Linked DNA regions of Homo sapiens: all the other regions are linked to region 1. Evidence: promoter capture Hi-C in human tissues and cell types (Jung and others, 2019). All regions are on one chromosome and are shown on one strand. Each heading gives the region's core, a stretch centred on a gene start or on the middle of the fragment in contact. The rest is flanking DNA. Distances are from core to core; before and after follow the strand shown. Region 1 holds the start of ALG12 (ALG12 alpha-1,6-mannosyltransferase). Region 2 overlaps BRD1 (bromodomain containing 1). Region 3 holds the start of LOC124905145 (a long non-coding RNA gene). Region 4 has its middle 78 kb from the start of BRD1.

What was found. Contacts are between HindIII fragments. The study calls those that stand out against the background at their distance.
Region 2: a fragment that was not itself captured here is called in contact with the fragment with the promoter of ALG12 in region 1 in 1 of the 25 tissues and cell types used here (spleen).
Region 3: a contact is called between a fragment that was not itself captured here and the fragment with the promoter of ALG12 in region 1, in 2 of the 25 tissues and cell types used here (H1 embryonic stem cells and lymphoblastoid cells).
Region 4: a contact is called between a fragment that was not itself captured here and the fragment with the promoter of ALG12 in region 1, in 1 of the 25 tissues and cell types used here (spleen).

The regions. Positions count from the first base shown.
Region 1 is chr22:49,913,329-49,920,918 of GRCh38, reverse strand. ALG12 (ALG12 alpha-1,6-mannosyltransferase) reads left to right here and starts at 2,481. Exons shown (of 10, transcript NM_024105.4): 1 at 2,481-2,656; 2 at 7,076-7,315; 3 at 7,402-7,534. The coding sequence starts at 7,154. It overlaps CRELD2 (CRELD disulfide isomerase 2), which reads right to left and starts at 2,285. Exons shown (of 10, transcript NM_024324.5): 1 at 2,021-2,285; 2 at 1,607-1,689; 3 at 1,079-1,189; 4 at 672-763. The coding sequence starts at 2,149. RefSeq lists silencers at 2,082-2,581, 2,692-2,891. The HindIII fragment of the contact is 10,539 bases long and covers 1-5,490 here.
Region 2 is chr22:49,784,264-49,791,759 of GRCh38, reverse strand. BRD1 (bromodomain containing 1) reads left to right here. Exons shown (of 13, transcript NM_001304808.3): 8 at 3,873-4,370. Among named protein-coding and RNA genes, the nearest start is that of BRD1, 40 kb to the left of the region's middle. The HindIII fragment of the contact is 3,563 bases long and covers 1-3,109 here.
Region 3 is chr22:49,667,663-49,674,885 of GRCh38, reverse strand. It overlaps LOC124905145 (a long non-coding RNA gene), which reads left to right and starts at 5,477. Exons shown (of 2, transcript XR_007068151.1): 1 at 5,477-6,516. RefSeq lists silencers at 4,041-4,090, 4,831-4,880, 5,439-5,639. The HindIII fragment of the contact is 6,404 bases long and covers 1,851-7,223 here.
Region 4 is chr22:49,746,042-49,752,966 of GRCh38, reverse strand. No RefSeq gene overlaps it. Among named protein-coding and RNA genes, the nearest start is that of BRD1, 78 kb to the left of the region's middle. The HindIII fragment of the contact is 5,781 bases long and covers 1,259-6,925 here.

The sequences.
Region 1 (7,590 bases), core at 1,232-3,731:
GCGCGGGGACTGCAGGGAGAGTGGGAACATTAGCTGCGGCCTCCAGTGCATGCCAGGGACAGCAGCAGGGGCTGGCAGAAGGCTGATGGTGGGCGGGTGGGGGGTCTGAACCTGAAACTTCTGCTACCTGATCTCGCTTGACCACGAGATTGGCTTTTATAAACAGTAAACCGTGACTTCAGTTTCAATGCACACTTCTTCACAGAAGAGCCCTGTCCCTTGGCACCCATTGGGGCTCAAGGCCATGTGCCCAGCCTGATAGACACCCAGTGCCCTGCGCTCTCTGCAATAGCAGCCACAGAAGTTGTGGTGTGGTCACCTCTGTGCACACAGGGAGAAGCACCTGGACAGGTCAGTCAGGACAGACTCTCAGGTGAGTGGACTCAGCTGTGAACAACCTGAGTCTGTGAACCCCTGAATTAACAGCACAGCTGGGAAGACATACTCAGAGTTTTACGCTAAAGCATGAGGTTAGTGGTGAGGCTGCAGCCAGACGGTGCGAAGTGCTCCAAGCTGTGTTGGGGATGGGGGAGGCAGCCATCCGGCAGGGTCCCAGACCCTACAGAAAGCTGATGCACCCCAGGTCCCCTCTGTGCTTTTACCTCCCAAGAATCATGAGAAGAAGAGGGGAAGTGACGTAGGAGATGGGATTTCCCTGAGGAGAAACGCACCGAGACAGTCGGGACCGTAGGTTCCTGGAGAGCAGCACACTTTCAGTGTCTTCACACAAAACCACTCGAATAAGTCAGGATATTCGCTCTTCCTGAGGATGGAGGAAAACATTCACTGAATCCCAGCAGACACGGTTCTTTAAAACAAACATGCAGCTGAACGTAACATATGCTCTGGAGTATTGTAAGGTCCAGGAAACAAGAGTCTAGGTGTGGACAGAATCTTCTCCTTAATTTCCTGGTTTTGATCGCTGACTCTGGTGATAAAAAACGGTAATGCAGGGGTAAGGTGGGTGCGAGGCAGGTGGGAGCTCCCTACTGTTCCTGTACCTTTCTAAGTCTGAGGTTATTTCAAATTCTAAGTTGGAAAATAAAAAGTATCTTCTAAGAGGTTTTAAGGCACTCACAGCTGCAGCCACCAGGCCTCCAGGTGCTCCTCCTGCGCCTCTAGCATCTGATTGCATTCGAAGTCGCTGCTCTCGCACAGCCCCTCCAGGATCTCCAGCAGGCGAATCTCGCTGAAACACAGGCCCACACCGGCCCACCGTCAGCGCCTCCAAGGCAGTGAAGAAAAATCCGAACCAATACGCCAACCTGGGTGCAGGGGCCGGGGAGCCAGGACTCCGGGCACAGAGAATAAGGGGACCCCACTGTCAGGGGAAGCCAGGAGCGGTTCCCACAAGTGGGGCTGGTGTTCCAGTTTACATTTTGAAAAGCCACTGTCTGTTGAGGGGGTAGGGACCAGAGCAGAAGCTGGAAGGCCAGAGAGGGGCCAGCCATTAGTCCTCAGGGAGAAGCCGAGGTGACTCGGACGGGTGACTGGTGCCTCGGGGGCTGTTCTGTCTCCCTGTCATTAACACAGGCACCAAAGGCAGGACACGACTTCCCAGGACAGCGCCAGGCCAAGACCCACAGGGGTGCTCCAGGGCACCCACCTGGACTCGTACTTGGACAGCGTCTTTTCCTCCCAAGCCGTGTTCCCGCCGCCAAAGTTCTTCTTTGCGGTGTCCACCATCCCCTGCGAGGAGACAGTGCCCATAGTGCTTGGTACCACCTGACCCGGGTCCAGGGTGGGGGCGAGCCCAGGTCGAGGGTGAGGGGACTCCAGGCCCACGGTGGCGTCGACCCTGGTTCCACGGTGGGGGTGGATCCGGGTCAAGGGTGAGGGGGACTCCAGGACCACGGTGGAGGGACTCTGGATCGACGGTGAGGGGGATCCCGAATCCAGGGTGAGGGGGACCCCGGATCCAGGGTGAGGGCGACCCTGGGCCCAAGGTGGGGCGACCCCGGATGCAGGGTGAGGGGGACCCCGGGCCCAAGGTTGACGACCCCGCCCGGCCCCTTCCCACCTGGTTAAACTTGTCCACCAGCCCCCGGCACCGGTGGCAGGGCGTCGGCTTCTTGGCGGCCTCCGGCGCGGGCGGCAGCAGCAGCAGAAGCGGCAGGAGCCCCAGCGCGGCCCGGCGCGGCAGGCGCATGGCGGGTAGCGCTGCGGGAAGACGCAGCCGGAGCTCCAGGTCCTGCGGCCGTGCTGCTCCGGCCTCCCGGCCGCCCACCCGCTCCCAGCCGCGCCGGCCTGTCCCCCAGGCTACTTGACGGCGCCGGCGAGGCCCCGCCCCACCCGCCAGCCCCGCGCCGCTATTGGTTGATGGGACCCGCCCCGGCCTGATATGGCCCAATCCGAGTTCGCCACGAGAGGTGACCAATGGGAAGGCCCCGGATCAGCGGCCGCCAGGAGTCCGGGGGCGGGGCGTGCAGGTCCGACCCCGCCTCCCGCTCCCCGCCCCTCGCGCGCAGCCCGCGGCGGCCATCTTTACTCAGGGCACAGAGGGTCTCTGCGGCCGTAGCGGCCGGGGCTGCGGTAGCCACTTTAGATTTGGGCAAGGACTTTAGATTCGGGCTCTGTTCTGTTTCCGCCGTCCTGCTTCCTGCCGAGGCTGGCCCAGGCAGCCGCGCTTCGAAGGACGCCGCCGGGAGCTGCGGAGGTCAGTGCGCGCTGCCGCGACCGGGGCCTTCAGGCGGGCGCGCGGCGAGACCAGGGAGGAGGCGGGCGAGGGCGCGACCCGAGCTGGCGCTGGCGCTGGATTCCTGAGGCCTCACCGCGCATGTCCACGCGTCACAGCCCCGTGCTCCTTACCTGGGGCTGCACCCCTCACTTGGGGCCGGGCTCCTCACCTGGGGCTGGACCTGTCACCTGGGGGCCAGACCTCTCACCCGGGGGCCGGACCTCTCATCCGGGGGCCCGACCTCTCACCTGGGGCTGGACCTCTCACCTGGGGCCGGGCTCCTCACCTGGGGCCGGACCTCCCACCTGGGGGATGGGTTTTTCACCTGGGGGCTGGGGATCTGGGGTCCACTTAGGGTCTCTGGGGGCTGGGGATCTGCATTTCTACAGGCGCTTGAGGTGATGAACACTCGCTCATGTTCAGGAACCCCTGGTTTAAATTAGGGGAAATAAAACGTGCAGCGTCTGGATTTCAGAGAACTCCTGCCTGTGGAAGGAAGGAGTGCAGATAACACTGCACATTTAAAAAAAAAAAAAGTAACATCTGATTTGACCAGTTTCTTTTCTGTTTTTTTGAGACGGAGTCTCACTTTGTCGCCCAGGCTGGAGTGCAGTGGCGCGATCTCAGCTCACTGCAAGCTCCGCCTTCCAGGTTCCTGTGATTCTGCTGCCTCAGCCTCCTAAGTTGGGATTACAGGCACCCACCACCAGGTCCGGCTAATTTTTGTATTTTTAGTAGAGACGGGGTTTCACCATGTTGGCCAGGCTGGTCTCGAAGTCCTGACCTCAAGCGATCTGCCTGCCTCAGCCTCCCAAAGTGCTAGGGTTACAGGCGTGAGCCACCATGCTTAGCCTGATTTGATCAATTTCGGTAGAGGCCTTAAAATCTGGATTGATGGGGACAAGAGGGTCTTTGCAGGTCATTCCCTAATCTGAGATGCCATTGTTCTGTAAACCACCATTTTAAAGTGTCATGGCCTGGGCCCGTTTTAACCTGTGGGTGCTCTCGAAGCACCCGTCACTTAGATTAGCCACAGCTGCTGCCCAGCTGCCCAGCAGAGTGGGCTAGTGCAGGACAGTGTCCGTTCACCCTCGCCTGGTGGGGGGTTCGTCGTGGTTTTCGTGCTTGCTGGTGTTGACTTGGTCTTCCCGTGCTCCTGGCAGAGAATCCAGACTCACCCTTGGTCTTCTCATGCCCTCGAAAGTGAGCTGTGCTGGTCATCAGCAGAAGGCACACCTTGTTGGGTCCGAGGAGGTGCTGGGGGCCCGCCAGGAGTGTCAGAGTCAGCACGTAATGTTTTCACCCCACAGCTGAACTCTTCCTTGCTGGGGAACTCCCCTGGGTGGAGAGGTGTGGAGTGGGGTTGTGGGGGACTGCCAAGCAGCACTTGCTGTGTGCACCTCCCACATCTTGGCACGTAGATGCTCCCCGTTCCGTTTTATTTTTTATTTTTGTAGAAATGGGGTCTCATGATGTAGCCCAAGTTGGTCTTGAACTCCGGGCCTCAAGCAGTACCCCCCATGTCAGCTTCCTGAGTAGCTGGGATTATTTTTGTGGAGATGGGGTCTGGCTCTGTAGCCCAGGTTGGTCTTGAACTCCTGAGTAGCTGGAATTACAGGCGTGAGCCAACACATCCGGCTTGCTTCCTATTTCTTTTTTTTTGAGACGGAGTCTGGCTCTGTTGTCCAGGCTGGAGTACAGTGGTGCGATCTTGGCTTGCTGCAACCTCTGCCTCCCGAGTTCAAGCAATTCTCCTCCTCTGCCTTCCAAGTAGTTGGGATTACAGGCGCACACCACCATGCCCAGCTAATTTTTGTATTTTTAGTAGAGATGAGGTTTCACCATGCTGGCTAGGCTGGTCTTGAATTCCTGACCTTGTGATCCACCCACCTCAGCCTCCCAAAGTGCTGGGATTACAGGCATGAGCCACCACGCCCGGCCGTTGGAACATATTTTTATTTAATTTAATTAATTTATTTATTTATTTTTGAGATGGAGTCTTGCTCTGTCGCCCAGGCAGGAGTGCAGTGGCGCGATCTCGGCTCACTGCAAGCTCCACCTCCTGGGTTCACACCATTCTCCTGCCTCAGCCTCCCAAGTAGCTGGGACTACTCGCCACCACTCCAGCTAATTTTTTTGTATTTTTAGTAGAGACGGGGTTTTACCATGTTGGCCAAGCTGGTCTCGATCTCTTGACCTTGTGATCCACCCGCCTCAGCCTCCCAAAGTGCTGGGATTACAGGAATGAGCCACCGCTCCCGGCTGCTGGAATTTTTAATAAGCACGTGAGCTGGTGTGATGAGAACCCCATGTAGGAGTTTTTACCGATTTCTTCTTCGGCAGCCTTGTTGAGTGCCTACTGTGCGGCAGGCTTTGCTGATTCAGCAGTGAGTCCACCAAGCAAGCCCTGCCCGCAGGATGAGTCCAGCAGGGGAGGTGGCAGCGAGGCAGCCTTCAGGCCACAGCGGCTGGCCTCTGTCCTTGGTGCTGAGGCTGCGCTGGTGGGAAAAATCATCCAGCATCAAAAACCCCCCACCGTCAAAAAGCTTGTGTCTTAGCAAGTGGGAGACAGCTGAGTGGGCCCTCCCTCAGTTAGTGATTCCTAACCTAGTCCTTCGACCTTTCTCTTTGTTTGATACCAAGTTTATTTTTTTAAATTTTTTTATTATCTATTTATTTATTTCTGAGACGGAGTCACGCTCTGTGGCCCAGACTGGATTTCAGTGGTGTGATCTCGGCTCACTGCGGCCTCTGCCTCCTGGGCTCAAGCGATTCTCCTGCCTTAGCCTCCCGAGTAGCTGGGATTATAGGCGTGCACTACCATGCCCAGCTAATTTTTGTATTTTTAGTAGAGACAGGGTTTCACCATGTTGGCCAGGATGGTCTTGATCTGCTGACCTCGTGATCCACCCACCTCAGCCTCCCGAAGAGCTGGGATTATGGGAATGAGCCACCGCACCTGGCCCTCAGCCTCCCAAAGAGCTGGGATTACGGGAATGAGCGACCGCGCCCGGCCCCAGGTTTTTATATTTGGCAAAGGAGAGAACTGCATACCATTTCAGTCGTAAAATTATTAAAGCTTTCTTTTTTCTTTCTCTCCACCCCCTGCCCACCATATCAAATAGGGTTCTCCTTCCTTCTAATCTACAGATTTTCCTTTGGTTGCCATCTTTGTATACTTCTTAACTCTCCGTTTGATCAAAAGATAGTTTTGGCTGGGCATGGTGGCCCACGCCTGTAATCCCAATACTTCAGGAGGCCAAGGTAGGAAGATGGCTTGAAGCCAGGAATTCCATACCAGCCTGGGCTACAAAGCAAGACCCTGTCTTTACAAAAAATAAGAAAACTTAGCTGAGTGTGGTGACCCACACCTGTAGCTGCGGCTACTCAGGAGGCTCAGGCAAAAGGATCCCAGGAGTTTGAGGCTGCAGTGAGCCATGATCACTCCACTGCACTCCAGCTTGGGTGACAGAGTAAGACGCTGTCTCTTAAAAAAAATTTTTAAAGTAGTTTTAATAAATGGTAAGCCCTGGGGTTCTCTCTCCCTTTGCTTCTGGCCCTTCTGGTTTGGATTGAATAAAATCAAATCTGTTTTAAAAGAAGCCAGAAACGTGAAGAGTTTGCCCCCTCCCCTCCCTTGGTCTCTCACGTGTAGCAGCTGGACATGTTGCTGGCCTCTCAGGAAGCTCCGTGCCACGGGCCCCTGAGGTTGTCCTGTTAGTGTTTGGGGGACCCATTGCCAGTCTTCCCAGGCTCACATGCAGGCTCATGGCCAGTGTGGTGCCACCTTTGGGAAAGCCGGCCATGGCTTCTCCCAGCCCCCAGGGTGGGGTTCGGCGCAGGCGTCCACAGCCCCATCCCACCATTCCTGGGAGCGGGGGCTTTGCTGGCCACTCGAGCCCTGTGTCCCAGCAGCTGTACTACGTTCAGTTTCTTGCCCTCCCGGGGCCCCTGTCCACCACTCTCCAGCTTGGTGCCTCCCACCCAGCTAACTGGCACCCCTCAGCCTCCCATTCCGTCTTCTTCAGCCGGTTCCCTCGGGGCCAAGCCTGGGTTTTGCTGACTCTCCTGCCAGATTTAGACTGGGGGGCAGGGGCCATTTACCACCCTCCATTGCCCTCGTGGCCCAGGCCTGGTCAGACTCAGGGTTCTGCGACTGAGATCCTTCTGCCTAGAAAAACATTCACAGAGCTGGAAGTGTCAGATCACTGGTTACAGTATGAAAGATTCTCAAGTGTGATTTTTTCTCCAAACTTTCCATCTTGATGCGTTTTCAGATTTGTAGTAGTGCGACTAAGACAGTAGTTCAGAGAATTCTGCTAACCCTTTACCCGGATCTCCCAAACGTGAGCGCAAGCGTGACTTTCGAACCTCAGGAATCTGTTTCCACTTTTCCAGCATGCGTGGAGTGGCAGTGCTAACGGCTGGTGTCTCGCACTGTTGGCCTGTGAAGGTACGTGAAGCTGAAAGCCTGGAATGGCTGGAAAGGGGTCATCAGGCAGGCGGCCCCTGCTGCTGGGGCTGCTGGTGGCCGTAGCCACTGTCCACCTGGTCATCTGTCCCTACACCAAAGTGGAGGAGAGCTTCAACCTGCAGGCCACACATGACCTGCTCTACCACTGGCAAGACCTGGAGCAGGTGAGGGGCCCCTGCTGTCTTTGGGGAAAACCTCATGTTACCAGCTGGCAGGGCCCCGGTGCACTGACCTGCCCTTCTCCTCGCAGTACGACCATCTTGAGTTCCCCGGAGTCGTCCCCAGGACGTTCCTCGGGCCAGTGGTGATCGCAGTGTTCTCCAGCCCCGCGGTTTACGTGCTTTCGCTGTTAGAAATGTCCAAGTTTTACTCTCAGCTAATAGGTAAGGGGGTCTTCAACAAAGGAGGAGGGAGTGAGGGACTGTGGTGTCATCGGGTG
Region 2 (7,496 bases), core at 79-2,578, 130 kb after region 1:
AGAGAAGTTGGGGGTCTCTGGAGAGGTGGGGCGGGCGGGGTCCTGCCCCTCAGAGAAGATGGGGGTCTGTGGAGAGGCGAGTGCCAGACTGGAATGGGGAAGTCATTAGGGAAGACAGCCACAAGCAAGCTTGTTGGTTGGTATAGAAATGTGACTTACGATACTTATAATAGGATGAAAACCAAGAATCAGACATTTAAAAACCCAGCATGAACGTTCTCATCAGTAAAGCCTCTCCATCATTTTTCTTAAATATAACCACAATATTTTCACACCTGAAAAGAGTAATTCCTCAATGGCAAATACACAGTCTCACTTAAACTGTAATTTAACAGTCTGTGTGTTGTGTTTATATTTTGCTTCCACTTGAAGCAGCTTGAACAAGGCTGTAGCCGTTGAGTGCCAGGCCCCTGAGACTTTAGTGTCTGAAGGAAGGAGATGCCTCCTGGGCTGCACTGTTGGCCCCGGTCTGCCCCTTGTACAGGCCCTCCCGCAGGCTCTGCCGTAGCCGCGACTCAGTCTGCCGAGTGCAGAGGTTCGGGCTGTTGCTGTGAGCTGGCCCTGCCAGGGCTGACTTCCCCGGGGCTGCGTGTCAGCTGGGTGGGGGCCACGCCACAGCTGGGATTCCAGCCTGTCTGATGAGCCTGTGGGACGGATCTGCAGCTGGCAGAGGGCTTGTCTCCACCCTGTGCTGAGGTTGGTGTCTGCTGACATGGTGAGGCAGGTCAGTGCAGTCAGGAGGAGCAGGGTCCGCACCGTGAGCTGGTGAAAGGGGCTTGCATTTCGAGTCCTTGGGATTTCCAGTCACAGTGATGCCCTTGCCAGAGGCTCCGGGGCGTCCCCTTTAGTCCAGGGCAGCTGTGGTCCCTTGAAGTGCACGTGTGGAAGTCCCCCTGCCGTGCACGGGCGCTGAGCACGTGGAGAACTGTGGCCCTCAGGAAAGGAAGGATGCATGTTCCTCGGGGTAGAAGGTGCGGAGTACGCAGCTTTGTCCCTTCAGGATTGCAGAGGACGGAGGCTTGAGGCAGGGTTGTTGGAGGGACAGTGTGGTTGCTGCTCGTGAGCTGAAATGTCTGCCTGTGTTACGCTGTGATTTTCCAAAGCGTCTTGTGGCTTCGATACAGAAACCTTTGATTGACATAGCAGGTGGCCAGGTGGGCAAAATATTGCGGAATTGTTCTTGCAGACTTAACTAGGTTTTAGTTTCTTAGAGTAGCTGGTTTGGATTAGATAACCATTTTGCCATTTGGAATATGTGACAAGTTCCAGGGACTGGAATTCTAGGATCCTGACTGATACATTGACGGGGTCTGAGAGGCTTATGCCCGAGTTGTATCGAGCATGTTCTGAGCTTTTCCCATGTGCAGTTCAGTGACAGCCTGAGATGGCCCAGAGTCAGTGAGCTTTGAGAGGAGTCTTCCTTCTTGTATGTCAACTTCCAGTCACATTTCCACTCGAGGGACGGGTTGGGCTTGCCTGTTGTGTCGTGGAGCCTGGAGGCTCAGGTCCTGTTTTTTTCTGATTTTATGGATGAGGAACTGAGGCACTGAACGGTCCGGGGGCCTCTGTGGTCCCGGCTGGGGGAGGGGCCTGTGTGGTCCCGGCTGGGCAGGTGGCTGAGCACCCAGACGACAGCGACCTCTGTTCCTGACCACGGCCTCCTTTGTGCCTCTGGTCAGTGCTGCAGGAACGCATCCTTTAGCCTGCGTGCTGGCGGCTGGAGCCCGGCCTGCATGTGGAGCTGCCGCAGAGAGGCCAGGGGCGTGTGGGGTGCATGCATGGCTGAGACAGGGCCACAGGGGCCCGCTTTGGGATAGACCAGGGGTTAGGGAAGTCCCTGCAGCGTGGAGATGGTTATGAGTCCCACATGGGGCATCCTAGCTGGGCCGAGAGCTGGAGGTGTGGAGGAGGGGTTGTGGACCATGGTTGGGGAGGGCCTGCTGCAAGGCAGGGACGTCTGCACGTCTCAGGGCTCCTGCCAGACAGGAGTGGTGGTTCTGAGGGTTGCACCAGAAGCAGGAGATGGGGGTTTACGGTGCCCGTTAGATAGCTGTGGAGAAGGTGGGCTGTAGGTGGTTGGGGGAAGGGGGGTCTCCCGGAGGTGCTGGGAGGAGACTCCTTCAGGCTCCATCTCTGCTGGCCGGGTGCTGTTGCACCCATAGAGGCCAAGACTGGGGTTGACCACTGGCCTTGGCCCTGCAGAGGCCATTGGGATTGCAGTGAGCAGTTGAATGTCGTAATCAGGGCGAGAGCTCGGGGCGGGGGGGGGAGGCTAGGAGGTGGAAGAGGAGGCAGGAAGTGAAGTGAGGCCCCAGGCCCTGTGCCCCAGACACCAGCTGCGTCAGGACGCTGCAGGCTCAGTGCTGAATCCCCTCCTGCTGCTGTACAGGCACCAGGGATGCTCATGAGCAGCCTTTCAGCAGCCCTTCTCCGCATTGCCCAGTTCCCTCCGGCCAGTGTTCCCAGGTGTTTCACAAACACCTTTTCCTTAAGCCTGTTGGCGACATTGAACAGGAGGGAGGGAGTTTTGTCACCTCGCATGTGCCCCTGCCTTGGGATCCAGCATTCCCACATGACAGCTGTGCTCCCTGCGGCTGACACGGGAGGCTTTTTGTTGAGGTGAGGCTTCCCCCTTGTATTTGAATTGGCTGTGAGGTGCTCTAAGGCGCCGAGTGTCATTTAAAATCAGAGGCACCTCGCAGCCGAAAGCACTGCTGCCCGGCGTCATGGCCCAGCCTTGGGAGAACTTTCTTCAGCCTCAAAACATTGCTCTGAGTCCTGTTAAGTTGTGTAGTTTTGTATTTTCAAAACAACTTTTTGAATGACAATAGTAACCATACATACTTCAAACGGTTTTAGGAAAGTTTGCAGGTTTAATGAAATGAAAACTGTACCCAGTGATAATATATACTAAGGATTATTTAAAGTGTTTTATGTCACTTTAAATAATCACAAAATCCTTGGTTTTATGTCACACTTCCTGTTGTCAGTACCGGTCCTGCTTGGAAGGAAGCCTCAGTGGCTGGGCTTGGCTTGTTGTGGCGTCGCCTCGCCCTGTTAGCCTCGTGCCAGAGCCTGTCCGGCCCCCTGGACTCGGGACAGTGCACAGAGCCCCACAGACCAGCCCCAGGCCGTCCTCCTGACCTCGGGCTTTTTACCATTTCACACTTCCGGTTTTTATAATGTCAAAAAGACTTTAAAAAGAGGTTAAAGCCGTCTTTTTCCAAAGACTTCTTATTTTTAAAAGTCAGATTTTTTTTTCCTGAAAGCTCCCATCACAATATTTGGGAACGTGGCACGGACTTCTGTGCTGTGGGGAGCGGGGCTTTTTTCCCTGCCTTTCTTGAAAATCATCCACAGCCACTCACCACTCCCTGTTTTTTTTGTTTGTTTGTTTGTTTTTGCATTTTTGACTTAAGACCTTGACCAGAGATCAGATTTAATGTTGCCTTCCTTTTATTTGCTAACTTCGTGGCCCAGTAGAGCTCTGTGGGAATGCCCGTTTAAGGCCCCTTTAGTTATGTGAGATACCTTTTCTTCCTCAAGGTAAGTGAATTATTCATTGCAGAAACTGTCATGAACTCGAGTGACGTGTTTAATATTGGCGCATGTGAAATAATCTTTCACAGTTTTTTTCAGAGAGTAACTGTGTGCCTGGGCACTGCACCCAGGGCCGCAGCCTTTGGCGTTAGGGAAGCACACACAGTGTGGCCCGAGCCCACGGGGCCCACACTGCCGAGCAGACAGTACATGCGATGCCTTGTTTCCTTAACTGAATTAGTATTTTGGTGGACTTCACATTTATAGTAAGTTTTATAATAGATTTTATAATCTTCAGTTTTCAAAAATCACTTTATTTATAATTTTTTCAGGAGATAAATCTCCCCCTAAACTTGAACCATCAGATGCATTACCTCTTCCTTCAAACTCGGAGACTAATTCAGAACCACCAACCCTCAAACCAGTAGAACTCAACCCAGAGCAGAGTAAACTTTTCAAAAGAGTCACATTTGATAATGAATCACATAGCGCTTGCACTCAGAGCGCACTGGTAAGCGGACGCCCTCCAGAGCCCACCCGCGCCAGTAGTGGCGATGTGCCGGCGGCGGCGGCCTCCGCGGTGGCGGAGCCAGCAAGCGATGTAAACAGACGCACTTCTGTTCTCTTCTGCAAATCGAAAAGTGTAAGCCCCCCAAAGTCTGCCAAGAACACTGAAACCCAGCCAACTTCTCCTCAGCTAGGGACCAAAACCTTTTTGTCTGTAGTCCTTCCGAGGTTGGAGACTCTTCTGCAGCCAAGGAAAAGGTCGCGGAGCACATGCGGAGACTCCGAGGTGGAGGAGGAGTCCCCAGGAAAGCGCCTGGACGCAGGTAAATGCCGCGGGCGGCCCTGAGAGGCGCCCTTGCCGACCAGTGCCTGGAGCGTCCTTCAGGATCATTGGTGTGACGGGGGGGGGGGGGTGTCCAGCTTCTGTTTTTGCAGCATTCTCTTAATTTCCAGAGAAGACAACAGTGCAGTGTTTTCTTTGAAAAGCCTTGAGTTGCGGGTCTGAGGCCGGCGCCTTCGTGGGGGGCCTGTTTGCCACGAGAGATTGTGCAACCTTGCTGGGCTGCCCTGGGCCAGGGGTCGATGGTCCTTGGTCCTGTCTTCTGCCACATACTTCCTCTCTGATTTTTTTTTAAGAGAGTCTTGCTTTGTCACCCAGGCTGGAGTGAGTGGCTCACTGCAGCCTCCAACTCCTGGGCTCAGGTGATCCTCCTGCCTCAGCCTCTTGTGTAGCTGGGACTACAGGTGCACACCACCACTCCCAGCTAATTTGAAAATTTTTGGTAGAGATGGGGGTCTCGCTGTGTTGTCCCGGCTGGTCTTGAACTCCTGGCCTCTGACTCCCAAAGTGTTGGGATTAGATGTGTGAGCCGCTGCACCTGGCCCCTTCTGATCTTTAAAAAAGTACTGAGAATGAATTCAGGTGTAGTTTTAATTGGTCATCTTGACTTTGCTGTGCACATCTGGATAAGCTGGTGACTGGCCGCTCCCAGCACTTGTGGGAGCTCGACTCTGCAACCCTCAGTCAGGTCTCCTTGCAGCCCCACAGACCTAGGACCTGGGGTTGAGCCTGGCCCTTCCCTGGACCTCTGAGAGGACCTGCCCCTGTGGTAAATGCAGTACTTTGCAGTTGATTTCAGCAACATTTACTCATTGTTTTATGTGGCCCTCTTAGCCACATATGTGATGAGGTATTAGGACCTGCTGAAATAGCACTGGAAAGCGCTTCTCATCTCTTGCTGCGCTTTTGTAACTGAACTCTGTTGAATTCCTCGGTGAGGGTGTTGCCGTGTGTGTGCTGTGCTGGGAGCACTTTGAGGAGGCCGCTGTGTTCCTGCAGCCTCTGCTCCCCGCCCCTCAGAGGAAGCTGAGGAGTTTGTCCTTTAAAGAGGAGCAGCTGTCATCGGTTTGCTTCTTCGGTACTGGCTGCGCTTCTGGAGGTGCCGGCTCAGGTTGCCAGCGACTCTTTTCTGGAAGCGTGTCTGGAGCATGTTTGTCATTTTGGTTTTTGTCCCGAGTCAAGGCTTGGTTCCCGTCTGTCCTGTCTGCCTGTTATACCTAGATAAGGAGATGCGCATTTTCTCCTGGCTGTGCTGGTGTGCCGTGGTGCCTCGTGCACTTGAGCAGTGAGAGAGGGTGGGGCTGGGTGGGTGTTGCTTATTTCCCAGAGTGGCAGCAAGTGAGTCCTGTGTCATGGAGCCTCACCAGGCCGGGTGCAGATGGAAGGCTGTGGTGGGCAAGACCTGCCCAGGCCACTCCCTCACATCTTGTCCCTGTTCCTTCTGCTGGTCTCTGGCCTGAAGCGTCCGGGGAGGGGAGTGAGACCAGGCACTGTCAAAGGTCTTTGTGCAGAAGGAGGCTCACTTCCTACCCTTGCCAGCAAGCAGGTCATGCGTCTTGTTGCCAAAGTAATTTCTGGTAAATTTCATTTTGATTTGTATGAAAATTTTGCACGTAACTGAATGTGTAGAAATTTTCTACCCATGTCCTTTTACTTTGATGGATTGATGTTAAATTGGCATTTTAAAATAATTTGAAAAAGCTTTTTTGCTTTCTAAGTAATAGGAAGCTATTGAAATGTTTCACAAGATACCAATAAGAATAGATGTCCTTGACTCAGGACTGGGGGATGTGTCTTAACCACGTTGGTCTTTCTTAGCCACCTTTGGTGAAAGACTCTGACCTGGTTTTCCAAGCACCCCGGAAATTCTGTGATGAATCGGGTCAGGGTGCTGTGCACTGGGTACTAGAGGTTGGGTCAGTGTAATTGTGGGCGTCCCCTCTGCATGCAGAACTTGGAGTTCGGCTGACGCTCCACTTCCTCGGGGTTTCACGTCTGTCGGCGGCAGAGGTATGGGGCTGCGTGCGTGGAGGCCCTGCCGGCCGTGGGGCTGGGGTTTGAGGCGGCCTCCCGTCGACACTCAGCAGGATGCTCACGTGGTGGTTTCCACCAGGTGGCCCCACCTGACCGGGCCCTGCCCCAGCTGTGGGCTCCCACTGTGGACAGTTTTGCCGGCTGGCGGCCACGTCCTCAGCAACCTCTCAGGCTCGTTCATCAGATGTCCCTTGTAGAAGAGCACGTGTCCCCTCCGGGCCACTGTCTTACATTGGAGTGGAGTGTTTTGCGGGCTTCCCGTGGTGACGGTGGTGTAGAGCAGTCTTACTGCAGACCTTCAGTGAGCGTGGCCCATGGTGGCTTTTGAGAATCATGGTGCCCTCTGATCCTGACTGAAGTGGAGATTTCTGCTCTCTCATTTCCGAGTGACAGTGGATTTCCGTGGAGGTGCGGTGAGTTCCTGAGCTCTCTCCTGAGCAGCCGGGAGCCTCAGCAGCATTAAGACCAGGCCCTCGGGAGTGGGAGGCATTCCACTGCTGTGGCCGAGGCGCCCGGGGAAGGGCTGGGCGTGCTCTGAATGGTGCCAGTCCCGCCATCCGCCCTCGCTTTGGTTTCACCGGAACCTTCTGGTGCTCTGCACATGGGGGATTTCTTGCCCAGAGCTGCAGTTCTTCGCAGTCTTAGGACAGGAATTATCCGGAACCTTCTGATGTTTTCCATACATGCATCTGTGTGCTCTGAACTTTAGGGAGTTATCTGGCATTTTCCAGCACACGCACAATTCTGAGTTAGGCTGAACAGGGTCGCTGGTCCTGAGGCGACGCACTCACTGTGGGCCTCCTGCCCGTGTCGCCCGCGGGCCGGCTGTGCTGTGCGCCAGGCTTCTGTTCCTGCGATGGCCCAGCCCCAGAGTCTGGCCCTGACTCGTGGCTTCCTTCCTCCGTGACTGCACGCTCACCAGCAGTGAACCGTCACCTGAAGCGGCCTTCCACTCGCCGCCGTTGCGGAGACCCCTGCTGCGAGTCTCTGTGTGCACGTGCTGGGGCGTGTGAGAGCGTGGGGGTGTCTTTGTCTACTCGCCGCCGTTGCGGAGACCCCTGCCGCGAGTCTCCCT
Region 3 (7,223 bases), core at 3,803-6,302, 250 kb after region 1:
TTGTTACGAAAACACAGTAATTTCCCACTTGAGTAATTGTCTTTATCCACTGGGCTTTCTCTGTCTCCTCTAACTGATGAGTATGTAGCTACATTGCGAATGTGGAGGTCATCTGTGCTCTCAAAGAACCGGCGAGAGTTACAGTTAGCGTCAGCTGGCTTGGCATGGAGTCTGGGCATCTGAGCTGCCTGGGGAGTTTACCAGGATACCAGGAACCCCTGCTACAGAGGAGGGCATTTGTGTCTGCACGCTGGCACCGTCACAGCATCTGATGATCCGATTCAAATGCCCTTCCTCTCTTTGTGTCTCTCTTTTTTTTTTTTTTTTTTTTTTTTGAGAAGGAGTCTTACTCTGTTGCGAAGGCTGGAGGGCAGTGGTGTGATCTTAGCTCACCGCAACCTCCGCCTCCTGGGTTCAAGCGATTCTCCTGCCTCAGCCTCCCAAGTAGCAGGGATTACAGGTGCGTGCCACCACGCTCGGCTAATTTTTGTATTTATGGTAGAGATGGGGTTTCACCATGTTAGCCAGGCTGGTCTCGAACTGCTGACCTCAGGCAATCTGCCTACCTTGGCCTTCCAAAGTGTTGGGATTACAGGAGTGAGCCACCGCACCCAGCCTCTTTGTGTCTCTTTTACAAGCTCATGAAAGACGCGCTGACAATAAGCTGCATCTTTGTTAAGTGGCCACATTTGCGAGGGGATTGACAACCTCCTCTCTGTGTGTTAATGCACTGACTGGAACATTCAGGCTGCGGTGAGGAAAGAGGTTAGAATTCCAAGCGAAGTGAAGTAACATTCCTGGCTTCTCCTTGCAGCTGCACTTCTCCCAAGCCGATGGAGCCCTGAAGCGACATGAGGCTGGGTCCTGCAGAGGCCAAGCTCCGTGAAGCCCAGGGTGCCCCCCACTCGGCCCCGCCCTCCTGTCCCCCTCCATGGCTCTCAGGGGTGCAGCTGATGATGGGGTACAGGGCGAGGAACTGAGGGAGGTTAGGGGTCACTTCACTGGCCGAGGGGAGGTTTTGAAGGCTGAGACACTGGCCAACTCAAGTAGGACTTTCACTGTTGTCCATGTCCACTCCTTGTGCTGGGAGAGTCCAGAGCCACAGTGACCTCTCGGAAGGGAAGTGAAGGGGCCTTGGAGGAGCCAAATGCTGCAGGAATGCCGGCTCCTTTCCTCCATGGGGGCGGGGGCGGGTTCTAGGGACTCCCCCTCCCCCTCACTCCCCCTCCCCCTCCATCCCCCTCCCTCCCCCTTCCCCCTCTCCCTCCCCCGCCCTCCTCCTCCCTTCCCCCCCCTCTGTCCTCCCTCCCCCTTCCCCTTCCCCCTCCCCACCTTCCCTCTTCCCCCTTCCCCTCCTTCCCCCTCTCCCTCCCTTCCCCTCTCCCTCCCTTCCCCTTCCCCACCCTCCCTTCCCCCTCCCCTGCCCTCTGTCTCCTTCCTCCCTTCACTTCTTTCTCCTCTCTTTTCAGAGGCTCTAAACGTGCCAGACACTGTGCTGGGCCCTTGGGACACATCCACGAAATACCACTTTCAAGATCACAGTCGCGTTTTTCAGAACAAAATGTTTTTCTTCTTGGAGAATTAACTGGAGCCCCGTGCGTTTGTGCGTGGCCATCCCCGTGTGACTGCCGGCTGTGCTGGTGCACTGGCCTCTGATGAGACATCCCTGGGTCACTCGTTCACTCGCTGGACAGGCCCCCTGGGCCCCGGCTGTGTGCCAGGTGCTCGTTTAGGATTGCTGCTGAGAAGTGGACTCTTTATCAGTCGAATTCTGTTTTCCACAGATAATTTATTTCAGAATGAATGATTCCTCCTCTTTCTCCTTCCCTTCTCTGTGGAGAAGATGCTGGAGGGTGAAGTGAGGAACAGAACCTGCGCTTATGTCTGACGGGGGTTGAATCCTCAGAGTTCCCCGCGAGAAGATGCTGGAGGGTGAAGTGAGGACCAGAACCTGCCCTTATGTCTGACGGGGGTTGAATCCTCAGTGTTCCCCGCGAGAAGATGCTGGAGGGTGAAGTGAGGACCAGAACCTGCCCTTATGTCTGATGGGGGTTGAATCCTCAGTGTTCCCCGCGAGAAGATGCTGGAGGGTGAAGTGGGGACCAGAACCTGCCCTTATGTCTGATGGGGGTTGAATCCTCAGAGTTCCCCGCGAGAAGATGCTGGAGGGTGAAGTGAGGACCAGAACCTGCCCTTATGTCTGACGGGGGTTGAATCCTCAGTGTTCCCCGCGAGAAGATGCTGGAGGGTGAAGTGGGGACCAGAACCTGCCCTTATGTCTGATGGGGGTTGAATCCTCAGAGTTCCCCGCGAGAAGATGCTGGAGGGTGAAGTGAGGACCAGAACCTGCCCTTATGTCTGACGGGGGTTGAATCCTCAGTGTTCCCCGCGAGAAGATGCTGGAGGGTGAAGTGAGGACCAGAACCTGCCCTTATGTCTGATGGGGGTTGAATCCTCAGTGTTCCCCGCGAGAAGATGCTGGAGGCTGAAGTGAGGACCAGAACCTGCTCTTATGTCTGATGGGGGTTGAATCCTCAGTGTTCCCCGCGCCTCCCCCCAGCAGAGCATTTCCTGCTTCAGAAGCCGCCCCCCGCCCCCACCCCCGCTGGGGCAATTTTTCCTTAAGGGCCTTGAGGCGCTCGGTTTTTGAAGGATAATTGCAGCCCCCACAGAAGCCGAACGATTCCTGGTTGAGGAAACAGTGTCTCCCCATTTATCTCTGTTGGAAGTTCAGATCGGCAGATGCTGGTCAGAGCCCTCTCCCCTCACAGCCTGGCAATAATCCACGTGGAGAAACGTTGAGTGCTAGGATTTCATAAATTCATGAAACGTATTAACCAGAAGTGTTGCCAAAAGACCTTGTTCACAGTCCAAGATCTGAGTGTTTATGCACAGAAGGGGTCTGCTTCCCGCCGGGACCCCCCTCACCAGCATCTGCTGATTTCCCCTCCCGCTAATGGAAAGTAACTGATGTGATGAGAAGGGACAGGTCGGAGCCGCCCCCTCCGCCCTGGCTCCAGCGGGGCTGAGGACGCTTAACGACGTTCTGTTCCGAACACCTGCGATCCCATCATTACCTCCCAAACAGAACATTTTGGAGAGATACTGCATTTCCATAGGTTTCAAGAAGTACTTTCGAACCACTGTTCCCAAGCCAAGGTGGAAAGCTACGTTTCAGCATCTGAGTAGTTTTTGAATGACCCGCAGTGACTGAAGGAAGGAGAGGGATTTCGAACACACTCGGGAAAGACAAACTCCCCCCGTCCGCTTTAGAACTGGAGAGAGAGCAACGCTCGCGGTTTGGAAGGAGCTTGGGGGGGCATCTGATCTGGTGAAACATCTGCCCCCACCCCTTATTACAGCCTCGACTCTTTAACTTTTATGGTAGACCCTGGGCTGGGTGCTGAGGATTTAAGGATAAATGGGATTTTCTTGCTGCTAAAGGGCTAAGTTAGTGGGGGTGCATCCACACCACGGATATTTGTTTCACGACGTGATACATGTGACGGGCTGTGTGTGTGACTATACAGTGAGAACAAGACAGGGATTCGAGAAGAAGCGTCACAATCCGCAGGCCTCTCTCTCTCCGCTGACCTGTGGCGCGGGGCGGAGAATCCTGTGGTTCCTGTCCTGCTTCTCAGCCCCGCCCTCCTTTTGGGGGAATCCGAAACGCTGCCTGGACGCTGGTCGAAGGGTGCCACCTGCCTTCCTTTTCATCTGGGGTCCCGGCCACACCCCCACGTCCCTGCTGCTACCCTGTTTTGTTCCCCTCCGTGTGACAGGAGCGCAGGATTTGCGTGGGGAGGGCAGGAGGTGACGTGAGGGGCTGGGGGTGCAGAGGACGCAGGGACGGCAGGGGCCGGGGGTGACGAGGGGCGTGGGTGGGGCTGGAGGGGGTCAGGGCTTGGCCGGCACCAAGACTCAGCCCTGTGGGAGCAGATGGTGGTCTCCAGCCTCCCTCCCCATCCCCAGCCGGGGTCTGGGTTCCAAGTGTTCAATCCCCTCCCCTCAACCAGCCAGTGCTCCAGCTGGAGCTAGCAGAGGCTCCTGCAGGAAACGCTGACCCCCGGGTTGAGAGCCGAGGGCTGGCTGGGGCAGGCTGCCCGCTGGGAGGGAAGCGCTCTCCCGGGCCGGGTGACAGGTGGCAGCCCACGCAGCCGTCACTCACTCTCAGCGCCTCCTCGGCCTGGGCGTCCGCTCTGGCCACGCCCGAGGAGCCCTGCATCCCGCCACCGCGCTGTGGGGGCCCCTCTCTGGCTGGCCGAGGCCGGAGCCGGCTCCCTCTGCTTGCGGGGAGGTGTGGAGGGAGGGGCGCGGGCGCGAACCGGGGCTGCGCGGCGCTCGAGGGCCGGCGCGAGTTCCGGGTGGGCGTGGGCTCCGTGGGCCTCGCGCTGGGAGCGGCCGGCTGGCGCCGCGGGCCGGGCAGTGAGGGCCTTAGCACCCGGGCCGGCAGCTGTGGAGGGTGCGCCGGGTCCCCCAGCAGTGCCGGCCCCCCGGCGCTGCGCTCGAATTCCCGCCGGGCCTCAGCTGCCTCCCCGCGGGGCAGGGCTCGGTACCTGCAGCCCGCCATGTCCGAGCCTCCCTGCGCCACCCTGGGCTCCTGCGCGGCCCGAGCCTCCCCGACGAGCGCCGCCCCCTGCTCCGCGGCGCCCAGTCCCATCCACCGCCCAAGGGCTGAGGAGTGCGGGCGCACGGGACTGGCAGGCAGCTCCACCTGCAGCCTCGGTGCAGGATCCACTGGCTGAAGCCAGCTAGGCTCCTGAGTCTAGTGGGGACTTGGAGAACGTTTATGTCTAGCTAAGGGATTGTAAATACACCAATCAGCACTCTGTGTGTAGCTCAAGGTTTGTAAATGCACCAATCAGCACCCTGTCCCTAGCTCAAGGTTTGTAAATCAGCACTCTGTATCTAGCTAATCTATTGGGGACTTGGAGAACCTTTATGTCTAGCTAAGGGATTGTAAATACACCAATCTGCACCCTGTGTCTAGCTCAAGGTTTGTAAATACACCAATCAGCACCCTGTCCCTAGCTCAAGGTTTGTAAATCAGCACTCTGTATCTAGCTAATCTGTTGGGGACTTGGAGAACCTTTATGTCTAGCTAAGGGATTGTAAATACACCAATCAGCACTCTGTGTCTAGCTCAAGGTTTGTAAATGCACCAATCAGCACCCTGTGTCTAGCTCAAGGTTTGTAAATGCACCAATCAGCACTCCATGTCTAGCTCAAGGTTTGTAAATGCACCAATCAGCACCCTGTGTCTAGCTCAAGGTTTGTGAATGCCCCAATCAGTGTTCTGTGTATAGCTAATCTAGTGGGGACTTGGAGAACTTTTCTGTCCAGCTCAGGGGTTGTAAACGTACCAATCAGCACCCTGTCAAAACAGACCAATCAGCTCTCTGTAAAATGGACCAATCAGCAGGATGTGGGTGGGGACAGATAAGGGAATAAAAGCAGGCTGCCCAGGGCCAGCAGTGGTAACTTGCTGGGTTCCTTTCCCAGCAGTGTGGAAGCTTTGTTCTTTTGCTCTTTGCGCTAAATCTTGCTGCTGCTCACTCTGGTCTTTGGGTCAGTACTGCCTTTATGAGCTGTAATACTTACTGCTAAGGTCTGTAGCTTCACTTCTGAGCCAGCAAGACCATGAACCCACCAGAAGGAGGAAACTCGGAACACATCCAAACATCAGAAGGAACAAACTCCAGACGCACTGCCTGTAAGAACTGTAACACTCACTGCGAGGGTCTGTGGCTTCATTCTTGAAGTCAGTGAGACCATAGAACCCACCAATTCCGGACACAGGGATAGAGCAGTGACCATCTAAGGGCTCTCAGGGCCAGGCCGGGAGCCAGGAAGAGCAGCTGCGTCGGAGCTGGGCAGCTTTTGGGGTCCGTGGGTCACTGTCAACTGGACTTTGCATCCAGGAAGCGTTGGTTCCTTTTACAGAGTGTCACTGTGATAGTGGGGTGTGTTCGTGTTTTACACGTTTAAAATGGTGCTGGATGCCTGACAGAGCCCTCATGACTGTTTAACACATTTTCTTGAAATCACAAAATTGACTATAAAATGTTCCTCGGAAGTTTTCCAGACTGCGGGCATCCTGGAACACCGGCCAGTTTTCACCTGTTTCTGGACGTTGTGTCGTGGAGCCGTCTTTGTAAGGGACTCGGATCACGCGTTTTCTTTGCTGAGTCGCCTTCCACGTGGCTTTGTCTGTTCTGTGGTTGGGGCGTCTCCTCCCTCCCACACGGGGTGTGCTGTGCCACCCTTGGAGGGCCTTCTCCCATCGGGCCCCGCATCTCCCGCCTGGCCTGTGGAGTGGAGTCCCCTGCCCTTGCTGCTGCTGTGGCCTCATCTCCCAACTCAGCCTTGGCCTCCAGTGACAGGGCTGGAACCCTGGCAGCAGAGCCACCACGGCAGCGACTCAGCTGTGGCCTCCGGTGACAGGGCCGGGACCCCAGCAGGACCTCCACCATGGTGGCAAGGCCTGGACCCCAGTGTGGGATCACGCTTCTGCAGGTGCTGGGGGGCTGCATGGCCGACTTCAGGGGGCAGGAAAATGATGCTTTGTCTTTGGAGAGGGAGGATGTGGGACAAGCTGCCAGGTACTTAGCTCCCCTTCTTCCACCTGCGTGTGCTGAGCCGGGGGCCCTGGGTGGTCAGGACCCTGCCCCTGCCCGCCCCCCCGCCCCCCCCTCGCCCCAACTTGAGCGCTGAGCTGGGAGGCCCCAGGGTGGTCAGGACCTCCTCCCACCTGCATGTGCTGAGCTGGGGGCCCCAGGATGGTCAGGACCTCCCCCCACCTGCGCGTGCTGAGCTGGGGGCCCCAGGGTGGTCAGGACCTCCTCCCACCTGCGCCTGCTGAGCTGGGGGCCCCAGGATGGTCAGGACCTCCCCCCACCTGCGCGTGCTGAGCTGGGGGCCCCAGGGTGGTCAGGACCTCCCCCCACCTGCATGTGCTGAGCTGGGGGCCCCAGGATGGTCAGGACCTCCCCCCACCTGCATGTGCTGAGCTGGGGGCCCCAGGATGGTCAGGACCTCCCCCCACCTGCGCGTGCTGGGCTGGGGGCCCCAGGGTGGTCAGGACCTCCCCCCACCTGCATGTGCTGAGCTGGGGGCCCCAGGATGGTCAGGACCTCCCCCCACCTGCGCGTGCTGAGCTGGGGGCCCCAGGGTGGTCAGGACCTCCTCCCACCTGCATGTGCTGAGCTGGGGGCCCCAGGATG
Region 4 (6,925 bases), core at 2,900-5,399, 170 kb after region 1:
CCGAGGTCTCGTGATTAGAACTCCCTGAGCCCTGGAGACCTGCTGTGGGAACCCGTTGTGTTAGCGTCTGTCCTTGTGTAACAAGGTCACCACAAATCTTGCAGCTCAAAACGACACACATCTGTCATCTCAGTCTCTGTGGCCAGCGGTCTGGCGCCACTTCGTGGGGTCCTCTGCTGGGCCCACAGGCTGCCATCAGGTGGCGGCTGGGCTGGAGGCTGAGCTGGGGCAGAGTTCACCTCCACGCTCACTCAGGGTGCTGGCAACCATCCGTCCTTCCAACTGTAGGACTGACGGCTTCATTTTCTCACTGGCTTTTGTCCAGAGGCTGCACTCTGGTGCTAGAGGCCACCGAAGGTCCCAGGTACGTGGTGTTGCCCAGCACGGCTGCTGTGTTCCCGCAGCAAAGGAGACAGCGGCTCCAGCAAGGCAGGGTCACAATCGTGCGTGGTGTGGTCGTGCACACACACTTAGCCACGGACACTCTATCGCTTTGATCCTATGATGTGGCTTAGGAGCAAGAAACAGGTCCCGGCAACACCCAAGGGGAGGGGACCAGGAAGGGGCACAAACCCCCGAGCTGGGAGCGCCGACAGGTGAGGGGCACAGGCTCCAAGTGCATGCTGGGGATAAGAAAGGCCGAGGTACCCACGCTGGGTTTGCAGAACAAGCCCGAACCCCACCCCCTCCTCTGTCCAGTCTGAACCACACCCCTCCTCTGTCCAGGCTGAACCCCACCCCCTCCTCTGTCCAGCCTAAACCACACCCCTCCTCTGTCTAGCCTGAACCCCACCCCTCCTCTTTCCAACCCTGCCCCCTGTGAAGTTTCCTCAGCTTTTGCTTTTGTTATCGTGGGCATCCAGGCCCTTTCTGTTCAGTGTCCTCCTTCCCACACCCACTCCCCCTCTGTCTTCCTCAACATCCATCCCTTTGTCATTGAGAATCCAGACAGCGGCTGTTTCTAACCTCTTTCCAGGGTCAGAGTAGCCCTGGTGTGTGCCTGGCTGGGCTCCAGGCCTGCGCCTCCCGGGTTCTGGGGGGGCTCTGGGATGTGGTCCTGCCAGCGGCCTCTGACAGGGGACGTGGGGCACCATGTGCAACCCCTCTCCTCCCTGGAGCAGCTTTTCTGGCCCAGAGGCTGGGAAACATCTTCCCCTCAGGGTTTGGTCTTCATTCTTCTTGTTCCCGCTGAGAAACCACAGCCAGGTGGGCGCTGGAGGGAGCTGAGGGGCACCTGCCTTCCCGTCTCCTCTGCTCCTCCCAGGGTCACCTGCCCACTCGGCCGCAGGCTTGGCCTGGGCCTGGAGTGCACGGGCCATGTGTGGCCTGGGACTGGCACGCACGGGCCATGTGTGGCCTGAGACACGGTGTGATCACTTTCTGTATGATTTACTTCTGGAGCCCTGATCCTTGACTGATGATCAATGTGAGGTCCTTGCAAGTAAATTCTACCTGTCAGGCTAGATGCCAAAACATGTAGCATTCACAGAAAAGAAAAGTCTGGGCCGGGCACGGTGGCTCACACCTGTGATCCCAGAGCTTTGGGAGGCCGAGGTGGGCGGATCACAAGGTCAGGAGATTGATACCATCCTGGCTAACACAGTGAAACCCCGTCTCTACTGAAAATACAAAAACAAAATTAGCCGGGCCTGGTGGTGGTCGCCTGTAGTCCCAGCTACTTGGGAGGCTGAGGCAGGAGAATGGCGTGAACCCGGGAGGCAGAGCTTGCAGTGAGCCGAGATTGCACCACTGCGAGATCGCACTCCAGCCTGGGCGACAGAGCGAGATTCCATCTCAAACAAAAACAAAAACAAAAAAAGTCAGAAGTGACCCTGCTCCGCCTCCTCCAGATCTGCATTTAGTGTGTGGACCTTCATCTGAGTCTCTGAGGAGGTGGTGAAATGTGGCTTCTCTTCGAGGTCACACCTGCCTGGGGGTCCCGTGTGGGGTCTGCAGGGTACCCAGGAGGCAGGGAGGGTCGCGGGGGAGGGGACTGGGGTGTTTCTTCGCAGCCCGGGGCGCGGCGGCTCATGAGACCTCCGCGGGGAGGCAGGAGACAGCGTGGCCTTTCCCGGGGCTGGTGGGGCTGGTGGGGAGGAAGCTGGAGCCCAGGGCGGGGGTCCGGGGGATGGCGGGGTGGGGTCGAGGACCCTCAGGTGCAGCGGGCGCCTCTGTGAGGGGCCGGAGGGGGCCACTTCTTCCCTGGACCCCGAGGCCCCGCAGGGCAGGACATGGCTGGGAATCTCCCAGGGCAGTGAATGAGGGGCTCCTGCAGGGTGGGCCCATCTGCCTCATGGGGGGCCTGAGACAGGGGTGGGACCTGCCCTGCCCTCAGGGCCTGGCCTCCCCTCCCCTCCCCTTCCTTCCCTCATTCATTCATTCGTTCATTCATTCATTCACCCCTCTTGGGTCCTCCTGGCCGCACTGGGCCTGGCATGGGGGGGGTCCCTGCCGGGCTCTCCTGGTTGCCGCCCACCGTTCCCCCAGGACCCCGTAGCCCTCGCGGACCAAACCACACCTGCGCAGGGAATCGGCTCTGTCCCCTGCCCCATACTGGTGCTGCCCCCACGATCCCAACGGGAGTCCCCAGAAGGCCGCCATGGGGTGGGGACGTTGAACCCCATGGGAGGGCACAGGGCCCAGTGGTCCCTGGCTGGATGTCCCAGCAGAGGGGTCAGGGGTGAAACAGGGACTGCGGTGGGACCCCCGGGGAGTAGCCATCAGGGCTGGGACACCTGGGGCAGTGCATGGGGGCCCTGGCTGAGGACGGGGGCCTTGGGGTGAGCCTGGGGCTGGGGGTCGGGGCCTGCTCTGGAGGGGAAGGCTCGGGCAGAGCTGCTCAGAGACATTCCATGTGATGCCGTGGAGCCCCGGGATGGCCATGTGGGGGGCTGCGGACCCCTGCCCTGCCTGTCCTGCCTGGAGCCCTGTGGGTGGGGTAGGGGTGAAGGGCACCTGTGCTCCCCACGGAGTGGGCGCTGCCTCCTGCCCTGCAGGCCCTGCCGGACACTCTGGAGAGGCTCAGAGTGCAGACCCCGGTTGGCCAGAGGGGAGCAGGGCGAGGTCTTCCCCACAAGGCTTGGTCGCTGTGACTGGTGGGATGGAGGCTGCAGCCGCAGGGACTTTAGGCTGCTGCAGCCTTGGCTCAGAAACTGGCCCTTCTCAGGACAATTGGAGGGTGCCCCCACTTGCCTGCTGTCGCTGGTTGACTCATTCCAGAGCACTGCTCACATTTCTGCCAGGCTCTTCCCCACCGGGAGCTCCTGGAGGCTGACCCCTGCCTCCCCCGGGGGCTGCTTCTGTCCTAGGCCCCCTACTTTCCCCTGGCACTGAAGCCTTTCTTCCCTGTATGATTGTCTTGATGGAGAGGGCAGGAGGCAAGGCCCCCTTACTGGGCGTCCAACCCGGCTGCTGTCCTGGGAACAAGCTTGTCAGGGGAGGCTGGGGTGTCTTTCTCCCGGGAAAAGCTCTGAGAACCCAGGGCCCAGGCTGGACGCAGTCCAGTTGGTGTCCCCAGGAGGGGAAAGGAGGTCCTTTTGAGCCCCTGTATGGCTCCAGGGGCACGGCCCTGCCTCCAGGCTCACCTTCCACGAGACGCCCCCTCCCCACAGCTCTGTGCCTGGGTGGGGCTCATGAACGTCCCCTGTGCTGGTGGGTGGAGGATGTGGGACTACCTAGGGTTGCCGGGCAGGATAACCCTAGGGATTGTGGGTCCTTCAGGACTCCCAGAAGCTGGGTCTGGAGCAGGCTCGCTTGACGGACAATCAATAGAGAAGCTGCATGTGTAACCAGGCCAAGTAAGGCAGCCTCTGTGCCCTGAACACCTGTGGTTGGGAGCACCAGCTCTGCCCTGTGTGCTGTGAATAGCGTCACACACACGCAGTTGGCTCACATCACCTGGAGACAGTGAGAGCTAATTAGGAAAACTCCAGACAGGCCCTGAGTACAGAAGGTGGAGGGCCCTGCAGCCTCCTTCCTCTGGGGCTGGGGCTGGGGCTGGGGCTGGGGCTGGGGCCGGGGCTGGGGCTGAGCCCACGGTCCTCGGCCTGCAGGGGGTGGGGATGGCACTGGTTGTGGGGACCCCAGGCGTGCACTGGGCACCCAGGTGCTGCTGTCCTTGGTCTCTTCCTTCCTCTGGGGCTGAGGCTGAGCCCAAGGTCCTGGACCTGTCAGTTTCCTCCTTCCTCTGGGGCTGGGGCTGAGCCCAAGGTCCTGGGCCTATGGTAGGTGGGGTGGTACTGGTGGTGGGGACCCCAGGCGTGCACTGGGCACCCGGGTGCCATCGTCCTGGGTCCTGTAGGCAGCCTCCTCCTGGGGAAACAGGAAGACAAGGGCAGCATCTGACCTCTAACCTCTGAGCCCAGGGGCCTCGGGTGTGTGTAGGGGTCTCTGGTCCAGTTTCACACTCCATGAAAATCACCCCTGAAGGGCTGCCTGCCTCCCAGCAGAGGCCTGACCTGCACCTTTCAGGCTGAGCTGGAGCCTCTAAGCCTCACAGCACCCAGTCCCTTTCCCAGGGGCAGGCTTTGTGGGTTTAGACCCCCAAGCAGCCCTGCCTGCTCCCTCTGCCTTTAGCCTGCATGAGACAAGTGTAAATCATACGTTATTGTAAGAAAGCTAAGTCAAAAATTCAGGAAACCGTTGAGTTCCTTCCATATATCAGGTGCTGTTAAAATTGAGGGTGGGAGGAGGGAGAGGATAAGAAAAAATAACTATTGGGTACTAGGCTTAGTATCTGAGTAATGAAATAATCTGCACAACAAACCCCCATGACAGGAGTTTACCTGTATAACAAACTTGCACATGTACCTCTGAACCTAAAATTAAAGTTAAAAAGAAAAGAAAACAATAGTTCCTAATTAACAGCAATGAGCTGTTACCACGGGCCAGCTAGTTTGCTGGAAGAACTAAGTAAAGAGATAGCTAAGAAGTGCCCTCCTGGGTCAGAATCAACCTAAGACTGGAACTCAAAACTATTTCTGCCTGGATTTAATTGAATTAGTATGCTGAGCAATTAATGCCCCAGGGCTTAGTGAAAAACAATAGAGCGACCAGCAGGTAATTAGTGGAGCTTAACAGGCTGAGGGTAATGGCAAATGAGGCAGAGAGCTTAACAGAGAGATCAGGGAAAGAGACAGGAATAGCCCCAGTGAAAACAAAACTGCTGTCATCTAGGGTGGTTGTGTATACACCCAAGGCTGAGCCCACTAGAGAATGCCACTGAAAGGGGAAATGCCATTCTACGGGGGAAATAAATGTTACTAAAGTAACCTAGCCAAGTCAGAAATAAATACTCAAACAACAACAAAAACAAGCCCTAGGGGGTGGGGGGTCGGGAATCAGTATCCAGAGTTACTATAAAATATTATTTAAAATGTCCAGTTCTTAACAAAACCTAAGAGACATTAAAATAAATAGGAATGCATGACGGATACACAGGGAAAAGAGCAGTAACAGAAGCTGCCCATGGGAGGGATCAGATGCCAGACTTAACAGACAGGGACCTCCAAGTATCCATCATTAATACAGTCAAAGAAATAAAGAAAACCATGCAGAATTGTTATATGTAAATGCTTGCTCCCCGGTGCTGCAAAGAAATAGCACTTGAACATAAATTTAATTCTCTCAGCAAGGCAATCTTTACTTCCTGCAGAAAGGGTGCTCCTCGCAGATGGAATAATGGTGAGAGCACACCTGAACAAAGGAGGGAAGCAATTTTTATCCCTTATGCAGTTTGTCCCTGTTACTGTGTCCTGTCTCCATTGGCTAGAGCCAGACAGCACAATTTAAACTAAAACCCGATTGGCTAACAGTATAAAACTTTTCTAAATAGGTAAAAGTAATGGAAGGATAAAGGAAAAGAGGAAGCTGCTTATGAAAGAATTAGAAAAGTAATAACATTCCCAAATAAGGAAGGGGTATAGGCTGCGAGCTGGGACATGCCTGTGAGCACGTCCAGCACAGATATCTTGGTTAAAGTACAAGGACACAGAATGTACTACATGTCCATGAGCATGTCTAGCATAAAGTTAGTCTTTAAAAGAAACTATTATTTCTAACACTCATGATTTATTCTTTAACAAGAAGGGAAACTTTGAAGAGGAACTTTTACTTTCTACAAGAAAGAAGTAAAGGAAGACATGAAGACAGTGAGAGTATGAATAGAAACTATCAATAGAGACTCAAATACAGACTATGAATAAAAAGAAACTATGAAAGAATCAAGTGAAAATGTTGGAGTTGAAAAATAATTGAAAAAGATTTTTTTAGAGGGGGTCAATGGTGGTTTAGAACTGGCAGAAGAAGGAATCAGTGAATGTGAATATAGATTCATAGAGATATGCAATCTGAAAAACAGAAAATGGAAGAAAAATGAATAGAACCTCAGAGCAATGTGGGACAACTTTCAGTCACCAACATCCTCATCACAGGTTTACTTGAGAAGAAAAGGAGAAAAGACAGAACAAATATGTGAACAAATAATGCCTGGAAATTTCCCAGATTTGCTGAACACATTCATCTATACATCTGAGAAACCCTGTGACCTCAAAGTAGAATAAATGCAAAGAAATCCCCATGCAGACTCATCATAGTAAATAGTGAAAGCCGAAAGCAAAACACAAAACAAAACAAAAAACAACCAAAAAACATCCTGAAAGTAGCAAGAGAAAAAAATGACTCCTCATGGTCATGGTCATGGTCACTCCAACAAGATTAACCGGTGACTTTTCATCAGAAACAATGAAGGCCAGGAGGCAGTAGGATGACATATTTAAAGGACTGAAAAAAAAACCCAAACAAACCTGTAAATCAAGATTGTCATAGCCTGAAAACGATCTTTCAACATGAAGGCCAAATAAGTTCTCAGATAAACAAAAGCCAAAATAATTCATGGTTGGCAGATCTGCCTTGAAAGTGATCCCAG